Regions from separate parts of the Homo sapiens genome. Here region 1 is linked to region 2. Evidence: promoter capture Hi-C in 16 types of primary human blood cells and fetal thymus (Javierre and others, 2016). All regions are on one chromosome and are shown on one strand. The core of a region is centred on a gene start or on the middle of the fragment in contact, and the rest is flanking DNA. Distances in the headings are between cores, read along the strand shown.

Region 1 (5,115 bases), core at 2,468-4,967, about 23 Mb before region 2:
CAGTGAGCTATGACTATGCCACTGCACTCCAGCCTGAGTGACAGAGCAAAACCCTGTTTCAAAAAAGGAAAAATCTTAGTGGCAAAAACTAACTGGTAAACTGTAGGACTATATTTTTAAAGAAAAATGCCTAACCTATTTTAGCAAGACCAGTATTTAAACATAGTGTTACTTTAATAAATGTTTTGGATTCTTTGAGGCAGTCTAACACACATGAACTACTATGCCTTGTAAGCTTACTTTATAAAAATATCACAATTAACTAATTATAGTAAAATATGGACTAGTACAGATAAATCCATTATCAAGATTAAAAAGTTTATATGCTGTAACTGTATCTTTCTAAGCTTACTTAAGGAAGGTATCACTGTTTCAGTATGTCTTTTAGAGTATATATTGCTGTGAAAAGAGTCGATGATACAAGAAGTAGCCCAAGATTGGATTCAGTATTCTCCTAAAAATCTCTCACTGAACAAATAAAATACAAAAAGCAATATAAGATCACTCCCAGTTTAAAAGTATATGGCACACAGTAGGGCTGGGAACCTAAAAGTTTTCAGATAATAAGCCAAATTAAACAATCAAACTAGCCTATTCCAACAGCATGAAGTACGGATTGCATTCGTTTCTGTTTTTGGTGTTTTGAGACAGGGTCTTGCTCTGTCACCCAGGCTAAAGTGCAGTGGCATGATCATAGCCCACTGTAACCTGAAACTCCTGGGCTAAAAAATTCTCTCACCTCAGTCTCCTGAGTAGCTTGAACTACAGGCACGCACCGGCAAGGCTGGCTAATTTTCTTTTACTTTTTTTTACAGAAATGAAATCTTGCTATGTTGCCCAGGCTGCTCTTGAACTCATAGCCTCAGGTGATCCTTCTGCCTCAGTCCCAAAGTGTTGGGATTATAAATGTGAACCAATACAACCAGCCAGAATTATCTAGATAATGTCAATACTATTTTATTATGAATTAGCCTGATAACCACTATTGCCATTTATTTTTCCAGTGGTTTTTTTAAAGATTATACAATAAAAAGCATATCACTATGCCATGTAAAAGTGTTATAAGAATGGACAATTATTGATATGTGCTAATCATATGAAATTTAAGAAGTATAAAGCCACATATCGCCAAATAGTATGATTCTCAGGGTAACCTAAGTTTTGAAATAAAGATTAAAATATCTACATAAGATAATCAACATATATGCCTATAGGACTAATGCCAGACAGTGCCAAAGATATCAATCTTTATATTGTTATATGTTGCGGTAATATGTATTAGTACACGAAGTTAGGTTCTGATGTAAAACTGCCAATTAAGATAGTATGTTAAACTCCATAAAAATAAGCCTATTATATGCTTCAATGCATATATAATTAAAAATTTTTTTCTTTAAATAAAAGTTCTAGTGAGTTCACATTCTTAGTGATAATAATCTCATGTTGCAAACAGCACAGCACCCTCTGGTGCATCTGTTATAAGAAATATAAAATTCCCACAGAAAAGGACAGAATTGTAGAGTAAAAGTGAACCTTAGAAATCAATAGGTTGATAGTTTTTTTATTTACTGCAGTACATATTTTTGAACATTAATACTTAAAAATATTATCATTTTAAAAGATCACTATAAACTTTATAGCAGTAAATGAAGTCAGGAAATGTCTTAGTTTGAAAATACTTAACCAACAAAAACAACACCTATTTCCAACATATAAAAAATGCTGTCAAAAAATTATTTCAGTAAAGGATGACAAAAGTTAACTTGTCATGTTAACCAAATTTCACTTTATTCAAATTGGCCTTGGGGTTTGACTTGGGTGTGTAAAATGTTCCTGTGTACTTTTTCTGGATTCAAAGGGAATTTACCATTATTTATAAGAATTGATAAGTGTTTTGTGAAAGAATCTGCAGGTTCTACCACTTAAAAATAGAATATTCAGAAATAAAAGTTATGTTAAATTACGAATCTTGAGTAGTTCAAAACTTTTACTTTAAAAAAAAAAAACTTTTCCTAGAAAACTCTAAAAGTAGATTTTACTAACAACAAAAGCAAAGGATGCCACCTGCTTTAGACAGCCCTTTTGTCAACCACTGGAAGTCCCAACACAATGCAGTAAAAAATGAAAGTGACACCTGTTTAAAGCAGCCATCTGTCCCTAACAAGCCAGATTTAGTCAAATCCACTTAATCTTGGATTTCCAAAATATGGGAACACTATGTATCTGTGAATAGAGAGGAATTTAAAACATACTTTGTCATGGCCACTGGGAATATATACCAAAGAGTTAAAGGCAAATTACTCAGTTATGAAAACTGTTTTTAAGGTAACTGAGCTCAAATAGAGGATTTTTAGCCAAAGGTTCAGCATTAAAACAAAATAACCAGGAGCCTCTCAAAAATGTTAAAGTTTACTTCTTCCCTATTCTCATTTCTTGTAACACATTCTCACTATGGATACTAAGAACAAAGTAATATTCCTATTACTGTTCTGGAAAAGTGTGTGTGCGTGTGTGTGTGTGTGTGTGTGTGTGTGTGTGTAACTTTTGCCACACATCTGCTGCTATGCCCACCCATTTAAACACAAACACACACACACACACAGACTTTAAAATCTGAAAACCAAAAATCATTATATTCTGCCTGCTAATTTCTTCAGCTGGAGAATACCAACACAATATCAACTTTCTCAAGAAATGAAAAATGTTACCAAAAAGTAACATACATTATCATTTAAACGACGCATAAAATCCAACTTGCCTTTAAGATTCATTCATTTTTTAATTGCTATTGTTAATGGTAAAAAAATTAACCATAATAAATTGTTTAGGGTAAAATAAACTGTTCCAGGTTAAAGCACAGTAAGCTTATAAACTATAACCTTTTATTTGAGTACCAAAGCAGAGTACAAGACTATTTGAGTACTGGAGGAATAATACAAAAAAAACTAACCATCACTACAACCTTTAATGAAAACATTGTGAAACGATGCAAAACTTCTAGAAATTCATTAGTTTGCCATATATGTGTATATGTATGATGCCTACACCATTTAATACAATTCATAGGCAAAACACACCAAAACGACTGAGTTAGGCATTATGACATACATTGAATCACAGACATTTGACTATTCAAAACAAGTTACAAGTGACTTCTATTTAATAGTTTTAGTTTCAAAGCATGATCACTTTTACAAATTTCTATTAGTATAAAAACTGAAAACACAAGAGAGTATCAATACATAACATAGTCCCTTCTAGGAAAAATATTAAGAAAGAATAAAGTAAATGCTAAGTATCTATCCTTGTGTTTAATTTTTAAATTTACCATTTCTCAGTGTTTCTGATTATTTAATCAATTCCACAGCAGCTCTAATAGCAATTTTATCCCACATATATGCTTCAAAAAATGGAAAAGTAATGAAATTCAATTTAAGTTCTGCTCTCAAATCAACTTGTGAATGAAAATCTAAATCACAGAAAACCTGAGCTATACATGAGTGAAATGCCTCAAAAAAAGTTCTCAGACACTGTAAATAAAATATTAAACCATAACATTATAGTATATAATTTACTTAACTGAAAACCTATTATGTAAATGGCATAAGGTCTGAAACTGTCCCAAGACAGCAAAACTCCTATTAACTTCAGAGAGAGTTTATAGGACCCAGGAGCTTCACCATCCAAAAGTGTTCAGGCATTTGACACTCATCTGAACAGAAAAAAAAATACAAGTTAGTATTAGAGATTTGCATGGAACCCAGTTTGGGGAGAGGAGGAATAATTATAAACAAATCTGAGTGCTCTGAGAAAGACTTCTTTCAGAACAAAATATCGTCTTCATTTAAAATAGCAATCACAAGGAAATGAATTGAAAAAGTTTTTTTAAAATCCCAACTCTTATTTTACAAAATATTAGCCTTAATAGCATTATAATTACCCACCCTGCTCGTTGACAATCTCAAGAATAATTAGTACTGTCACATTATTCACAAGCTGCTGTGTCAGTTAAATCAATATATGTTTGCTGTTAGAAAGAAGACTATTTGAATAAGCATTTTAAAACTGTAAATTTAAAACTTCAATATGTGCAACTACAATAGTACATTATATTTGTTTTAGCACACATTCATTATCAAAACTCTACTGATAAATCTATTAACTAAAAGTTAAGCTGAAAAAAATGAACAAATTTAGGGGATCTGTAAAACTGGGTTAACGTTAACCAAGAACCTACTATATAAGGACTAATAAGTATTCAAATCTACAGAGAAAAATAATTTTTAAAAGAAATACTTAAAAAGGAAAAAGTTCTCTCTCCTGAGCAGGTTCAAGTCACTGTCCAAAGAAAATCAAAAAGTAAATAAAAAGAATATGTTAAGTACACACATGCCTAGATCTTAACCAGAAAGAAAGTGAAATATACACACGTTTCAAGTTGAGAACCTTCATACATTCTTTATGAACTTGACTTGAATTTCAACTCTCAAAGGAAAATGAGGAGATTAAAAAAAAAAAAACTCTTAAAGTACCATAACTGTCACAAATAACACTGTGAACTGAGTTCTCACAAAGCTTCCTTGTGTCCCTTCCCTGTTCATCACAAAGTCTCATAATCACAATGAAAATTGTTAACACTCTACTGCGGGGAAGGAGGATCATCAAAGTGAAACGGAACCTCACTACTCCCCCTCCCACCTCCACATGAAGGATAAAGCACTGTCAATAACTACTAACCCAAGTATCACAGATGCCCTGCATCCGGTTTAAATCACAAGCACACACACACACACACACACACACACACACACACACACACACACACACACCAAAGAAGAGAGAGGAGACAGACTTTAAAAAAGAAAAACATCTTTCCCAGTACAGCAAAGAGGGCCCAACGAACAGGCCCCAGGTTTCAATATGTGTGCAAGGGGTGTGTGGGGGGGGGGAGAAAGAGGGGGAGGGAAGAGTGCTGAATGGATGTTAAGACTGTTTGCCGCACAAAGAAAATACAGTTTTAAAAAGAAAAAAGAAAACCATGAAGCTGATGATGGTGAAAGAAGAGCAGCCCATTCAGCACCAGGCAAAGAGGGGCAAAAATGAAGGGAATGGGCG
Region 2 (4,912 bases), core at 1,553-4,052:
TATTTTACAGTAGAATACCTTAATGATGTCACTCCTCAAAGTGTCTTTTCTTTTTTAAGATTCATTTTTGTTTTCATTTTTTGTAGGGGGGGGGTCTCACTATGTTGCCCAGGCCAGTCTTGAACTCCTGGCCTTAGTGACCCTCCTGCCTTGGCCTCCCAAAATGTTGGGATTAGAGGCATGAGCCACCACACCTGGCCAAAAAATTTATTTTCTTAAAAAACCTACAAACATCCTACAAAGACATTTTTGAGTTATTTTGTTAACATTTTTCTTCTGTGCACCCTGGGCTACATAAGCGTAACTGGCCATATTCAGTACCAAGTGGTATCCTCTTCATTGGGCCTTATTGCCCTTGACTCTACTGAGTACCCACTTGCTCCCTTCCCTACTCCCTCATTCTCCCTTTAAAACATCCAATCACTGCTGTACAAATCAAGGTTGAATTCCTTTCACATTGGACTATTTTCCCTATTGCAGTAGTAAATTATGGATAAAAATGTGTCCCTACTGTCAGGGTTTGTTATCTTTGACAACAAAAATAAACATATAACTGCAAGTTATAATGAGTGATATGTAGTGTTAAAATAATTAAATTGGAGGCCATTAGACTGAAGTCGCTCTAATGCACTGAGTTCCTACATGAGGAAACTGAAACTTAAAACGGAATCACAAGTGGCCAACTAGTCATCAGTTATATCGTCTTGAACTTCCCACAAGAACAGTCCAAATAAGGCAACTGCTCAAACTTTAACCAGTCAAATAATTTCTTTGCTGTGCTCTGCATTTACTCTCTGAAAGCTTTCAACTACCTCTGGGGGAGCCCCAAACCACTTATGATTTGGAGCTGCCTAATTCATGAATTGCTGTCTGTTCAAATAAGCTCTTTAAAATTTTAATGTGCCAAAGTTTACCTTTTAACAGATAGGAATAGTACAGGGTGCACTGAGGACATATAATGAGGTGGGGGGCCAGAAGGAGTTGGAGCACTAATCTAGTATGGACTGGCAGAGAAGACCTCTCTAATAAAAGACATTTGGGTTAAGACCTGAATGATGAACAGGACTTTGGACAGTGAAAAGCAGAGGGACAAAGATTCCAGGAAGAGAGAATTGCAGTGAAAAGGACTAGAGACAGAAAGGAACTTGAAACACAAGTAGTCTTACAATAAACTTAAAATTTGACATAACCTAATTACTAACCAAATTACAACTTGATATAACCTAATTCCAATTTGATATAACCTTAAAAGCAACAGAACCTAATACATAATGATCCAAAGTCAAATAAGATATGGTGCCTACTCTAAGGAAGCTCAGAGGCAAATAAGTGAGATGTATTCCTATTCTCTATTCCTTTTTCATCATGAAAAAGAAATGGGGACAGGGATCAATACTTACTACCTAAATGAGCTTAAGCAAATTATTTAATCTCTTTAAAACTTGGATAATAGTATCTGTCCTGCCAATTTCAACTGTTAATATCTGTCAGGGTCCTTAAGTGCAAGGAACAGAAATCATCTATAAATGATATAAAAGCTGAAAATGAATTTATTAAAGGACATTAAGCAGCTCACAGACTCTCCCAGAAGCTGAAGAAACAAGCTAGAGGTTCTCCTCCCAATAAAGCCTCTGAGTACCTAACACTGCAGCTTGCAACAACACACTGATGCTGGACACTGGTTGCTGGTGATAGAACATTGCAGTCTCGGAAACGATGTAGTTACTGCGGCTGTCACCCTTACTTCAACAGACTCTCTGAAGTCCTGCTTCTGGTTGTCATTCAAGTTTGAGTTGAGTCCACCAAATTAGATTGGAGAGTCTAGCAAGCAATAATACTCATGTCCCAGTAATAAGGAAGACTAGGAAAGCCAGTATCTGTCACTTTCAGTTCCTGTAAGGGTGTTGGGGGGCAGGGTAAGGGAGAAACTCTGCCAAAAGGATGACAAATGGCCACTGCAAATAGGGTGAGCTCAAATGAGATAATTACATGAAAATGTTTCACAAACTAAGGGAGAATTCAGCCACATAACATTATCTCATTTTGTGTTGTATTGATTTTTAACTCCTCGAAGGCAGGCAAGTTGGAAATAATGTGTAAAATAATGTTAAAATCCCAATACATATGCAATCACATTTAAGCTGTTATCAATGAAGATTGGAAGGAAACATACAGTAAAAGTTATTTTATTAGAGAAGTGGGATTTAAGGTGAAGTAGTTCTTAAATTAAAAAAAAAAAAAAAAAGGACACTTTCCATTGAATTCACAGTCTTCCCCACAAACTTGGATCCAAATTCTAATGAAAGGAAGCTTAAAGACGCAAAGCTTCTGGTGAAAGCAGGAACGGAACAGTTGGTGCCAGAATCGCATCCATACTTCATGATGCGTTGTGTACGCTATGCCGTCCTAATAGGAAGGAAAACTACCACAAATTAGGAGTTTAGAAAATTGCACAATGCTGCCTACCACTTAACTTCAAATGTAACCTGTTAACAACGTTAGCCGACGTGAGGTTACCTAGGGACATAGCAAAACTCGCTAGAGTTACTTCAAGTAAGGCACACGGAGGTTGCTCTGATTATCAAGAAAACCAAACGTTCACATAAAATGTTTGTCTTCCAGCCGCCCCGCTGTTTTCCACTTTTTCCAAAAAGCACTGAAGCGTGGTGAAGAAACAAACATATCCTCAATTCTCGCGAGAGCTCCGTGTGTAACCAAGGGCTGAGGCGGAGGATTGGTCACTCAGGATGAGGAGCCTCCGCTATCCCGCCCCCGTTGCCGGGATACGCCGCGGCGCACGGCAGTTAGTGGGTAGGCCTGAGAGCCGAGGAAAACTGAGCGTGGGCCTCAGAAAGAAGTTAAGGCACCCGCGAGCCGGGCAACTGCCCTCCTTCCGCGCCGGCGGAGGTGAGAATCCCCGGGTCCCATCTCTTCCTCCCTCCCTCCCACGTCTGTTCTCTTGCCTTGGAGATGCTGATCCGCTCCAAACAAAACAAATTCAAACTCGGTCTTAGCTAACTGTTACCGTCGGGCCTGTAGCCAGGCCAGGCATGTACCAATTCTAGTCGAGCGAAGGTTGCGAACAGACCTCCTCCAACAGCCCGACCCCTCCCCGACCCCCCGCAGGAGACCCGCCAAGCACAGAGCAGAGGGAAGGACCGCGATGGGCTGAAGGATTTTAGTCAAAGCAATACATTTCTGCCTCTTACAGTGGAAGGGACTTATTTCTGTCTGTTGATCACAGTGCGGGCAGTTAGCAACTTTCCACTTATTCACCTGTGTGAGAATGGTTGGCTTAGGGAGGATAACGATAGTAATAATAATTAGAAGCAGATGTTTTAAATGTAATACTTATCGTCTTCACAACAGCCCTGCAAGGTAGATGTCACCCTTCTGTTTTACAGAAGATGAAATCCTGAGGGGTTAATTAAGGTGGCAAGATTATGCAGCCGCTAACTTTGTCAGCACTAGTTTGTATCGCTAATCATTCTGGATCCAAAGGCCAGGCTGCCTCTCTGTGTGAATAATTGGAAATTGTGTGACTCTTTGATTGAATAACCCCGAAGTTAGTGGTATATTTGTTGCTAATGCCCGCCTCTTAATCCCACTGGTAATAATATAATGGTAAGCTTTTTTTCACCACAGTAAAACGGTGGCAAAGAAAATTGGGTGAAATTTTTTATGTTGTACATTTTCTCAAAGTTAGCAGGAAACCTAGAGTAATATCTTTTCCACTGGAAAGAGATGTTTATTGTACTCGTTTTCTTCTGGAAAAACCATTTTGATCATACACCGTCTTCCTTTTCAAAGAGTCATTTCATGAAATTCCTTTTTCCATTTGAAATTCTTTTGCTTTGTACATAGAGTTCAAAATGGCAAGGAATTAGAATCAGGGAGCTAGTGGGGTCAGGAAGATTGATGTGAACATATTCAAATGAGATATCTGAATGGAAATTTCAGATAAACAATTGAAAACTCAAAATTGGTGCCCAGTTGAAAGGGCAGAACTGTAGACATTGATTAGTGAGCCGTACACATAGTTGGAGTTATAAAGATGCATGACTGTAGAAAGGATAGAAGCAGTCCAAGGACTGATTACGAGTAATGCTAAGAAAAGTCAGAAAAGTAGTACTGGACATAGAGTGTAGAAACAGAGAAATCATTTTAGTCCAACACACGCTTTGTTTGCCTTTTTTTTTTTTGAGACGGAGTCTTGCTCAGTCGCCCAGGCTGGAGTGCAGTGGCGCGATCTCGGCTCACTGCAAGCTCCGCCTCCTGGGACTACGCCCGCCACCACGCCCGGATAATTTTTTTTTTGTATTTTTAGTAGAGATAGGGTTTCACTATGTTAGCCAGGATGGTCTCCATCTCCTGATCTCGTGATCCACCCGCCTCGGCCTCCCAAAGTTCTGGGATTACAGGCGTGAGCCACCGCTCCCGGTCGCTTTGTTTGCTTTTTAACAATTTAGTAAATTTTTGTAATTGGCAATACCTTTATGTACGAGGAAATTTAAAAGATACAAGAGAGAACAAAGTTTTTGCTTATCACTGAGACAGATTTTGGGGATATAAAGATGATTAAGATTCAGCTCTTGCCATAAAGGGTGAGAAATACTTAAGCAGATCATTTCAAGTGGTGTGATAGGTTCTGGAATAAAGTAATACACAGGATGCATGGTAGCATGTAGAACAGGCCTATACACTGAAATTGAAGAAGACGAAGATTCCAAGACCAGTTATGGACTGGTCATGGAAGGATTCCCAGAGAAAGTAATAGGCAAAATGTGTGTTAGGCAAGGGGACCACTTAAGAGGCTGGTATAATAGTCCACCTGAGTCAGTGATGCCCTGAATTGGCCAGTGCTGTAGGAATAGAGAGTAAAGTACCTGTTAAACACTTAGGAACAAAATCA

Evidence for each region. Contacts are between HindIII fragments. The CHiCAGO score rates a contact against its expected background, and 5 or more counts as called.
Region 1: a fragment that was not itself captured here is called in contact with the fragment with the promoter of IFT74 in region 2 in 1 of 17 cell types (total CD8 T cells); the score reaches 5.6 in total CD8 T cells.

What each region holds. Positions count from the first base shown.
Region 1 is chr9:3,520,050-3,525,164 of GRCh38, forward strand. All of the region lies in intron 1 of RFX3 (regulatory factor X3), which reads right to left. Among named protein-coding and RNA genes, the nearest start is that of RFX3, 3.4 kb to the right of the region's middle. RefSeq lists an enhancer at 5,093-5,115. The HindIII fragment of the contact is 1,711 bases long and covers 2,863-4,573 here.
Region 2 is chr9:26,953,610-26,958,521 of GRCh38, forward strand. It overlaps IFT74 (intraflagellar transport 74), which reads left to right and starts at 2,803. Exons shown (of 20, transcript NM_025103.4): 1 at 2,803-2,907. It overlaps IFT74-AS1 (IFT74 antisense RNA 1), which reads right to left and starts at 2,698. Exons shown (of 2, transcript NR_121605.1): 1 at 2,518-2,698; 2 at 2,171-2,406. RefSeq lists enhancers at 2,015-2,750, 2,751-3,485 and a silencer at 4,082-4,376. The HindIII fragment of the contact is 1,304 bases long and covers 2,324-3,627 here.